Regions from separate parts of the Homo sapiens genome. Here region 2 is linked to region 1. The links are contacts of gene promoters, found by promoter capture Hi-C in blood cells and fetal thymus (Javierre and others, 2016). All regions are on one chromosome and are shown on one strand. Each heading gives the region's core, a stretch centred on a gene start or on the middle of the fragment in contact. The rest is flanking DNA. Distances are from core to core; before and after follow the strand shown.

Region 1 (5,670 bases), core at 1,398-3,897:
CCATCCCAGACTCCTAAATTGAAACCCTGGGACTGAAGTCCTGCCCAAGAACTGAATTTCTAAGAAACAGCCTAGTTAATTTGGATGATTCATATCAAGGTGGGAAAATTATTATGTCTACATTGTCCATTAGAAATTTAAAGACACTCACAGATTAGTGTTTTGCATGTTTTCCCCAAAATGTTTATATACCATAAAATTGAAAACAATACTTCTTGTGATAAGCCCTTAAAAACCATTCAGTTTATTCCGCCCATATATAATGAACACCATTATTGAAATGTAATTATGAGCATAAAATTATTGGGAAAAATATGAACTATGCTTCTCAAAAATACTGCCTTTATTTTGTCACTAAAGTAATTGTGCTATTAAAGGAATTTATTGTTTTTTAAAGTATCAGTCACTTGGCTGCAAGAACTTATTAAGCTATTATACTCCTCCCATACCCTTTTAGTCATCAGAATTTTTGTGATAAAGCCTTTTTATTATTTTAAAACTATAAATTGTGAATCATTGCAACTAGTGATTAGACTGACTATGAATATATGTCCAGGTTATAAATTCCTAAAAGTATGTTTCATTAGAAATACCAAGGCAGTCTTAATTATAGCCTCTGCAATAAAGCTCTGTTTACTTCTATTAAGGTAGGTTTTTTTTTTTTTTTGGTGCAAAATGATTCAGTTTTAATGCATTATTTTAACAAGCAAAAGCAAACAGTTTCTGATATACATGCCATACTGCAAAGCTGTAAACCCGTGTTGCATGGTGATGTGACAAGCACCACATTTCTGGAGGGATTTTTTTTTCTCTCCTACAAGCTCCCCCTCCCCAAGCCGTGGCTATAATTATTTCACAAAATGCAGTTTGCCATTTCTAGAGACAAACACTTCCTTCTCCCTCACCAAAACTTCAAGTTCAGGCCAAATATTGAATGAAAATAGAACTTGAGAGGCAGGCTTTGTTTGTAGCATGTTGTTTCTGCTAAGAGTTGCCCCCTACCCAGGCTCCACCCCAGTGGTCGGACTGAAGTGTACATGTTATGTTTTAACAGATGGGCCGGCTGGCGGCTGCTGGGCTGTAAAACAGGAACGCGGATTCTGCACTGAGTGGTATTGAACTGAACGCTCGTAAAGTTCATGGACATACTCTGACCCAGACAGACCAGGCAGATGCAGACATGCTTACGCATACACACTCACTAACACCCCACAGCTCAGAGGATCCATCTCTGTGACCCAAGGGAAGTTCAAGGCTGAATTTCCCCTTCATATATTTACCTCATTCACCTTTTAATTTTATATATACACACACTCACACATATACACGTATGTATGTGTGTATATGCGCATCTACATCTTCATATACACATACAGAACTATATATCTCAACATTTTCATGTATTTTCAAAGGTCTAAACATCCCCAAATTCTGGACCTGTTTCTGTCTAGTATTTTCAAAAGCTCTTATTCATGTCAAATAAGAATTGTAAGAAAATATCGTATTGAATTCTGTTTATTCCGCACATAATATAAACTACATGCATGTAGTTGGTCTCAGAAAAACAAGCTGCTTTTACCCCCTTACCATTAAGGGGGGAAAACAATCTAACCCAGACCGAGTCACAAACGGAGTGTCAGGTTTAACCTTGAGTTCTCTGCTGTCAATTCCTGACTCAACTTCATCACTTAAACACGCAGGTGCTCAAACAAACACCAACCGACCAGGCTGGCAATCCCTTTCGCAGCCTCTAGGATTCTCCAAGGCACTGGGCACCAGAACCGACAGCAGCTCCCGCCTGGTCCTAACGAAGTCCTTCGGACACCCCTTGCGGGTGGATGTGGAGGTCCGAGCACCTCAGGAGGGTCATGGATTCAAGTGCTAATAGAAAGCAATTACTTTAGAAAGTTCAAAGCCCAGCAGTGCTCTCAATTCCTCTCAGTAGCTGCAGAGCACTGAAGCCCCCGCTACAGAACCCGGCTGGTACTCCAGTTCTCTGGCGCTGAGACCCACCTTGAGCCCGATGAGCGCTCGCTCAGCCTTGAGATCCAGACGCGGACGCCGGGTCTTACCGTACCGCACAGCGCGGGTAATTTTTCAGGAACCGCGGTCCGCACGCCGCGGGCGCGGAGGCCGCCCCAGCGCTCCATGTCGTTGCCGCAGAGGGGCAGGGGACGCGTCCCGGCCCCACCTACCCATGTCAATTACGCCAAGTTGGTGCGGACTGGAACCGCGTCCCGGGCGGAGTTGGGATGCTTTGACAAGAAGAAGTTCGGGAGTGGGGATATTGGCACGGAGTAAATCCCGCCCAGCCCTGACCTCCCCACAGCGGTCACGCTCGGACGAACGGACCGCCGAGCGCCAGGACGCGTCCCGTCCCCTCTCGCCGCCGCCGAACCGCGCCGAGAGGAGCCGCTAGCCCGGCGCGCGGCCACTCACCGTCCTCGCCGAGTCCCGATAGCAAACCGACGTCCCTGCTGCGGTTCTAAGTGCCAAGTTGCCCCCAGTCGGTGGCTGCTCACGGCCCAGTGGACCAGGGCACATTGGTTCCGGCGGGCACCTCAGGGGGAGTGCGGCAAGCCTGGCGGCCGCCGCGGCCACACAGTCGCCCACAGCGCGCTGACAATTCACGGACCTGCTCAACGAGTGAGGCGGAAAGCAGGGCTAAGCCGACCAGGCTCTGGAGGGGAGGCGGGGCTGCCGCTAGGGGCGGAGCCAGCCCCGGGGCGTCATCAGCCCATGACTGGCGGAGCCGACAGCCAGTCGTGGTGGCGCTGGGACCGCCCCGTAACCGCCGTCCAGTCGCCTGCGGCCGAGGGCAGGCTGGCGGGACGCGCCGGCGGCGGGGAAGTTGGTTATTGCGAAGTGCCGTGGCTGCCGGCGGGCGCTGCGGGACTCTCTGCAATGGGACCCGAGCAGCTCTAGAGGGAGGCGGCGGCCCCAGAAGGCCGTTGGCTGAGAGAGACCAGGAGCCCTCGGAGCCGCCGCGCGCATAGCGCTGTGGAGCAAGAAGCCAACCGCAGCGCGGGTCGACACGCCAGTATCTGGCACCGGCAGGAGGCGCGGAACTTAGCTGCCCCATCGGAACCCCGCCCGGAGGAAGCTGAGGGCCGAGAAAGGATGAATTCCGGACCGGGTCGCCCAGCCACAAGTGGAAACCTGGGCTCTCTGGAAAACGTTCTGATCTCGATCTGGCTATCTCTGAAACAAAACTCCAGCCCCGCAAACCTCCCAAAGTTCAGTACACGTCCCCGTCCTCACCCCTGCCCTCCGGGCCACCTGCAGCGGGGGACTTACCGGCGCCTCGGGTCTCCTCCTCCCGACCCAGCGCGTCGCGGACACAGCTGGCGGCCAACAGGAGGCTTGGGCGCTCGACGGCGCCGGAACCTGTGAGACCGTCGCTCTGGGCGGGCTGCCGTGCGGGGTGGCATCCTCTGCGGTGACTTCTGCTGTCTTTTGGGTCCGCCAGGATTCCAAAATCCCAGGCGGGTCGCTAGAATTATCCATCTTCGTGGACAGGAAGCCCCAGAACGAACCACATCTGTCCCACTCTGCTTCCGCCCTCCTTCCCCTTCGCAAGCTCCTGGCTGGGATGGAGACATCGGACGAGCTCGGAGATCCCGACCTCTCAGGGGTCACTCGCAGCCGAACAGCCTGGAATATGGCCTTGTGGGCCCTTCCCGCCCAACCCCCTAGGACCCCACTGCTCATCTTGTCAACCAGTTTCTGAGCCCCTACCCTGGCTGCAGCACGTGCTCGCACAGGCGCGCTGAGCTACTAACATAGAATCAAAAGCAGGGAGTTGGGTGTTCTTGCTTTCCCGCTGAAACCTAGAATGTAAACAAGCCCTAGACCGTCAGCTGTGGGTGGGTAGGGGCCTCTCCCTGCCTAGAACTGCTCTTGCCATGGGTAGGCACCTAACCCGTATTAGTAAGAATGAAGGAATGCATGCTCATAACAAGAAAGGGGTCAACCTGCTGCCCTGATACTCACCTTCACCACTTACGTCTTGCTTCCAGCGCAAGCCCACTTCAGACCATTGCCTCATTCAGGTCCCAGAAGTCCTAAGGGTTTTAGTCTCTCAGTATGGGCAATTATTCACATGTAAGGGAGCTGCAAGGTGTTATTTCAATGCCATCTGGCCTCTATAAGGTCTTGCATCATAGCTGACCTCTCATGAGAAGGTTCTGATGAGGTCACCAGGGAGAAGGAATGTAAAGGGCTGGTGGCTGAAAAGGAGTGAAATGGCCCCTCTTAGGTGAGCTCTGGCCTGGTTTGAGTTTCAATTCTGTCTCCTCAGCTCCATTTCTCAATGGGAAAAGGTCCATAGGAAGGTTGTCAGAAGGGCAGGAGACTAGGGCAGGGATAGCCCTTTGCAGACCCTGAAAAATTGCTCAGTAATGCAAACATTGTCCATATTTAAGTTCTTTCTTTTCTTTTCTTTTTTTTTTGAGGCAGAGTCTCACTCTGTCGCCCAGGCTGGAGTGCTATGGCTTGGCTCACTGCAAGCTCCGCCTCCTGGGTTCACGCCATTCTCCTGCCTCAGCCTCCCAAGTAGCTGGGACTACAGGCGCCCGCCACTACGCCCGGCTAATTTTTCGTATTTTCAGTAGAGACGGGGTTTCACCGTGTTAATCAGGATGGTCTCGATCTCCTGACCTTGTGATCCGCCCGCCTCGGCCTCCCAAAGTGCTGGGATTAGAGGCGTGAGCCACTGCGCCCAGCCTTAAGTTCTTTATTTTCTATCTTGTGGACCAAAGGACTGCTACAGGCAAGGAAGACCATCTGACTCAATTCCAGAGGTTCCTTAGCATGCTGCTGACTGGCCTAGGAGAATGGCCTTTGCCCATAAAGTATTAGATGTAGACCACATGAATGGAATATTCACCAGGTTTCTGCCCAGGTCTGGATTGGGCAAGGACATGGCTGGAGGTGCCTTACAGGAGAGAAGGCCAAAGAGAGAGAAGACTTGACTCCCAACCTGATTCCAGCAGAACTCCACTTTGATGTGTTTTTAAAATTGTGCTCTTCTGTTTGCTTTCACGGAGGCTGCCATGAAACGTCATCTTTGACTAGAATTATCAGGAAATGCTCATGGAAGAAATATACTTCCTTGGATTTTTTTTCCTACCACACTTCAGGATATAACTAGAGAAAACATTTGCCAACAGTGCTTATCATATTAGTACCCTGTGAAGGTTTTCATAGATGCTGATTATTATTTTTAAAATCATTTCGGGAATAGGAGCCAAACACTAGGTCATGACTGTACTTACTTTAGTATTTACATTAAGTGATGAAAAATGGAAATAAAGGAAATGTCCTGTCATGAAACAAGTTAGAATTAGGTGACTTTCATGTCCTGATTTCCAAGGTTTTCTGTTTGTTTCAGACAGACAAGATCATCCATGGGTTCTTGGACAAGTAATAGGTCTCATTTTCCCTTGTAGACCAGAAGACATGGAAAAGACAGCATATTCGGACTATATTCATATTTCCATACCATCTTTTGTTGTAATTGATTTTCAACAAGAGCCCCTAACAATCTCTTGAGTTTGGGCCATCCCCATATTCTACAAGGGAAAATGAGATCTCTTACTACTCCAATAACCCATGCTTACACTATCTGTATGGAACAAACAGAGAACCATCAAAATCTGAACGCAGAAG
Region 2 (5,670 bases), core at 1,248-3,747, 260 kb after region 1:
ATTGAAAGACAAGAAACAGACTGGGAGTGTATATTGGTTATATACATATCTAACAAATGCCTGGTATATAAAGAACTCCTACAACTCAATAATAAGAATCCAAAGACTTGATTAAAAATTGGGCAATAAATTCAGACACTTTATCAAAGAACAGGTGGCATGAGAGCACATGAAAAGCTGGTAAACATCTTTTATGGTCACCATCATTAGTCAGTAAGGAAACGCAAATTAAAACCACGATGTGATACCACTATATACTTACTAGAATGGCAAAAATAAGAAGACAGAAACTACCCAGTGTTGATGAGGATGTGAAGCAATTATCATATCTTGCTGGTGAGAATGTAAAATGTTTTCCACTTTGGAAAGCAGTTCATCTTTCTATATAGTTAAACACACAGTTACTGTAATAATAATTTTACTCCTGTAAGATAAGAAAAATAATAATGTATGTCCACAAAAGGACTTGTTAAAGATTGTTCCTAGCAGCTTTATTCATAATAACCCCATATTGAAAACATCCCCAATGTCCATCATTTGGTAAACTGGCAAACAAATTGTGGTATATCCATACAATGGAATACTACTCAGCAATAAAAAGGAACAAACTTCAGATACAGGCACAACATTAATGAGTTTCAAAAACATTGTGTGGAGTGAAGGAAGTCAGACACAAAGGAATATGTAAGTGATTCCATTCATATGAAATGTTAGAAAAGACAAATCTAATCTGTAGTTACAGAAAACAGCTAAGCGGGCCAAATATGAGGTGGGATAGAAGTTGACTTTAAAGGGGTGCAAGACAACCCTCTGAGGTGATGGAATTGTTCATTATCTTGATTGAAGCAGTGGTTACATGGGTGTGTACATTATTCAAAACTCATGAAGCTGTATAATTAATATGAGTGTAATATATGGAATGTAACTTATCCCCCAATAAAGTTGATTAAAAAATTAAAAGGAAAGTGGGGCAACCAAGTTTCATAAAGCAAAATATCTTTGGGTAATAAGTGGCATGAACTAACAGCCAATTTCCTTAGAAAACAGCCATATGGATTAATCACCTCTAGAATTATTTGTGCCTGTGCTGCCCAGATCAAAGTTCCAACTCCTGGCAGAGAGGGCCTGAGGGGCTTAGCTGAGGTCAGTTGCTCTCTTCTGGACAGGGAAAAGCTGGACCATCCTGACTGACCTTCCACCCAGACTGCTGTCCTTGTGGCAGGGATGGTATCTCAAAGAAAAATGGAGGTACTGTTACCAGAGAAGGGGCAATGATGACTGCTAAACAAACAAATAAACAAACACCAAAACAGTCTTCCCCTGTGTATTTCCAGGGAGAGTAAAGAGGATGGTGAGGGGCTTCAAACATATCTATGTTCATTCATTCCATTCATTTATTCACTCAAACATAATATGGAGTCTGTACTATTTTCCAGGAGCGTTATTGAGTAGGGACTCGAACGCTCTTGAAGTCTCTCTAAAAAGAAAGAGTTCTTATTAATGGGAGGAAGAGAAGCCTGGTAGGAGATGGTTACCTGGAGTGGTTATGGGGCTTAAACCTGTTTTTGTTTTTTTGTGGGGAGAGGGGGATAGAATTCAACGACACAAGAAAGAACTTTGCAGCAGTCAAATTTGTATCTTTTGGGGTCCTGTAAAAGCTGGAAAACTCTTTAGTCTGGAAGAGGAAGATGGACAGTCAGAGAAGCAGATTCCAGAATTCATGTCCTGTCTAACCCACAAATGGAAAAGCCCGTTCATGGTTTTAACATTCCATCACTGGGCCTCCCGGGGCCTCCTCGGCGAGTCGGCAGAGGGAGCCATTCCCCAATAAATTGCCGCGCGAGGCCTCCGAGGACCTGGGGGGATTTTCCTGCGCGTCCGGGGAGTTCTCTCTCCGCCCCTCCATGGTAAAGCAGACTATCCCACCCTCCACCCTCTGCCTTCACCTCCCCGCCCCACCTTTCCATGTACTTTGCTGCCACATCACATTCTCTGGCACGGCTTAATCACCATCCTTTCTGGGTCCCACCTTTGCGCTTTCTCCCCTGACACCACTGAGGACCCGCCGTCCACTCCAGTTGGCCGCTCGGGCGCCGGCCACCGTCCCACAAATCCTTACAGAGGGTCTAGAACACCTCCCAGGGACTCTGCCGAGGGACTTGCACCCAACGTGGGTTGGGAATCAGGCGGGCACCCACTCTGACACCCCTTCGGTCACCCCCTGCGGTGACCCCAACATTTGCTAACTTCGCGACCAGGCCTTTGGCGGGGTCACCCACCAGGCGGTGGAAGCCGCTCAGGCAGGGGCGACTCACGATCGAGGTGCAGCAGTCAGGCCGGGAAGATCCTGCATGTTGCGCTAGGGACTGCGCGCGGCGCCAAGCGACAACCCCCCAGCGGCCACTGCCCCGGCAGCAGCAGCTGCAGCAGCGGCAACTGCTCGAATCCCGGCCCCGGCTCGGGTTACCCGCCCCCACCCCCTCCAGCATCTCGGGCCAGACAGAGAAAACCTTGTTCAAGTTTGCAGCAAGTACTTTCCCGGTGCGCAAAACTGGGCGACTGGGAACGCGTTGAGACGTTCCTCTTTCCCGCTTCTCCACCTTTACGCCTGAAAGAAGACTCCCAAAGATTGCTTTCTTCTGGGACGCTGCTTGGACGCTAACCGCGTTGATTGGAACAGATTTTGTGTCTTGGCTGGCTTTGGGTGAAGACCGGGGAGAAAAGGTTGCGCTGCGATTCTCAAGATCTCTGGACCTGGGTAAGAGTTGGGCAAACTCAACTCCGGCGGCTCCTGGACCTTGGCCGGACGCCGGAAGGCTTCTCATGGGCGGGGGTCACATTTTCCTTAGCCAGGGTACCGGGGTGCGGCGTGAGGTGGGGCGAGATGGGCTCAGTCTGCGTTGTTCATGCGCTTCTTAAGGGTTTATTGTTGTTTGCATTTGGTTTTGTTACATGGGATTGTGTAGGAAAATCCTGGAGTATTTTTGATGGAGAGACATCCTCATTACGCATTTTATTTTGCATAATTCCTGCCCTTGTATTGCCTTACCTTGTGTTTGTTTCATTTTGCCGGGCGATATAGCTGGATGTAGGGAGATTTGTGGGGAATCGGACTGAGCTTGAAAGGCAGTTTCAGCTGGGCCCTTTCTTCTAGGTCAGTTGAACTTCCTTTCTGGGATCTTCACTGTTTTCTAAACTTCTCTTTCTCCCGTCCTTGGTATTCAGATTGTGCAGATAACGCTCTAGGCTGGCGGGATGCTCCCCTTTCCTGAGTTCTCAGCGATCAGTAGGGGTGTGAGGTCGCAGTCTTAGACCAAAGGGGCCTTGTCAGTATGCTTGGCTCCTTAAGGAGTGCTGGGAGGGACGGTTTTTCAAGTGATAGTTACTTAAGAAAGATAAATCCGGTGTTGATCTTTTTCTTTTAAATTCCTTGTTAGAGGACTTTTACGCCTGGTTTAAGGAAGTGTTTTGGCCTTAATTTTCTTTCTGGAAGTATTTTTCTTAGTGACACCACTGAGCAAATGAATGATGGCAATATCTTTGCTGCTTCTTTAGAAAATATCCTCACGCAAGGACCCACATTATTTAGGAGAAAGTCAAAGTTGGAGATCTTATTAGCCAAAATTAGCCATTATTATTGTTCTTAGGCTGTGATAACCATGCTGTGCCAAGGCAGAAGAGAATGACATTTCTTCTTGTTCTTCTTGCCTTACTCCTTTATATCCTGGGTCTCACTTTGTGTATAGGGTTCCCAAATAAAAATGCTTCATTCCTTATGGACAGAAATACTGGGGCCAATTTATATTATCCAGAAATGTCATCTTCCTGACACGAGTGCTCCAAGAGGTCAGCTTGCAGGGAACTTTTAATTTTACCACTGAGAGTTCAAAGAGTTCAGTTGGTAAACTCTGGGCACCCGCCAGCCTGGGTTCAGCTCACAACTCTGCCACTTTTCAGTTCTGTGATTTTGGGGTAAGTTACTTAATCTGTTTATCCACATATGTAAAATCAAAATGATAATAATAGCACTTACATCAGACAATTGTTAAAGGGATTAAGTAAGTTAATGCATGTGAAGGACTAACAAGCCTGACACATAGTAGGCACAAATTAGCTTTATTATTATTGTATAGCTAGCATTAACTATTGTTGTATCCCTCTAGTATAGCTTCTATTAGCTGTCAGTAAGTGTTAGCTATTATTCCTATTTGGATGGACTTTGAAGACTGTGCTCATCTGTAAGCTTCACTACCACCTATTGTCAAACTTAGCTCAGACATGATCTTTGTATTGCTTTTTTGTTGTGGCACTTTCAGTTGGAAAAATAAAGGTGTATATGGCAGAGCTGGAATTTATAGGGTGGTGGGTCATGGATGGGCACCAAAGACTACTTGGAACAGGTGAGGAGGTGGGAAATCTACACTCAGTTCACAGCCTGTATACCTCCTTGGAAATCCTTTACATTAATATACTTTCTTTAACCTATTTTTTAGAGGTCACTCATTTGTTCAGTAAGTATTTATTAACCATCTATTACATGTCAAGCACTGTTTTAGGTTTTATATTTTAAAAATGGCTATGCATGAGTATTGGCTTTATGTGCCTCCTCCCATTTCAAGTGTGTGACCTAGCACTCTATAAATTAAATCCCAAGTATTTTTAGCTACACAATTTCCATACCTGTTAAAATGCTCATAAGAGCACATAAAAAGCACGTATCATTGAGAAATTGAACAAAATATTCCCTATGACCTCAAGCAGATTGCTTTTCTCCATTTAGGCATCAGTTTTATTATGTATAAACTTGTGTTGAGAGGTGGGGAAAGAGTAGAATAACCTCCAGTGTTCCTTCTGGCTCCAAAATCCTTAAATTAGCTGCCTTACTTCATTGGTGGCTGTTTTTGAACCCCCACTTTTCTCTTTTAACATTTGTTTTAGGTACATAAATTACGTTACTTCCATCTTTGCATATTCATCAAAGTGAGTAACAACATCGATAATTAATGAAAAGGGAAAAGCGTTTATCTCTGTCTGTCTTTCACTATTCTCAGACTTTGGTTTATACCAGAAGCATGAAGTGGGGAGATTTGTTAAAATATTAGAGTGAACTATGAGAAATTGCTGATATTTGACCATTTTTGACCTAAATAAATGGCAATTTTGTATGGTTCAAACTATACAAACCCTAATCCCTTCTGCCTTGATTTAGAAGTAGTAAGTCTTCTGTGAGTTGTGAGAAGTCTGCATTTTTACAAGTTCCCCAGGTGATTCTAATGCAAAACTCAAGTCACATGCTCATTTAGCAGCAGTGAATTTACCTTCTTTGTGATTGTCTGCTTGGTTTAATAGTGTATTTCTAAAATGCAAATCTGATCATGTTATTCCCTTGTTTAAAAATCTTTGGCAGCTCTCTGGATGGTGAATGTCAGTGTTACCTGGGTGCATGTTGAAAATATAGATTCCAGGGCTTCACCCCAGAAGTAAGGGCCAGTAATCTGCATTTTGAGATCTCCAGGTGAACCTGGTAAAGCTGACGTCAGATCACATTTGGAGAAACACTGGCTTACAGCATAAAGTCTCACCTCCTTACCGCTATACACAAGACCACCTTTGCAGCACTTCTCAGGGTTATTTTCTGCTTCTCTGGTCCCCAGCTCTCCAGCTCCCACT

What was found. Contacts are between HindIII fragments. The CHiCAGO score rates a contact against its expected background, and 5 or more counts as called.
Region 2: the fragment with the promoter of MEGF10 here is called in contact with the fragment with the promoter of MARCHF3 in region 1 in 15 of 17 cell types (M1 macrophages, M2 macrophages, endothelial precursors and 12 more); the score reaches 24.6 in M1 macrophages.

Annotation. Positions count from the first base shown.
Region 1 is chr5:127,027,911-127,033,580 of GRCh38, forward strand. MARCHF3 (membrane associated ring-CH-type finger 3) reads right to left here and starts at 2,648. Exons shown (of 5, transcript NM_178450.5): 1 at 2,440-2,648. LOC105379163 (a long non-coding RNA gene) reads left to right here and starts at 3,433. Exons shown (of 2, transcript XR_007058920.1): 1 at 3,433-5,670. RefSeq lists a silencer at 2,610-2,989 and an enhancer at 2,986-3,530. The HindIII fragment of the contact is 7,560 bases long and covers 1-5,670 here.
Region 2 is chr5:127,288,299-127,293,968 of GRCh38, forward strand. It overlaps MEGF10 (multiple EGF like domains 10), which reads left to right and starts at 2,498. Exons shown (of 25, transcript NM_001256545.2): 1 at 2,498-2,758. LOC105379199 reads right to left here and starts at 2,438. Exons shown (of 4, transcript XR_007058921.1): 1 at 2,280-2,438. The HindIII fragment of the contact is 5,574 bases long and covers 1-4,241 here.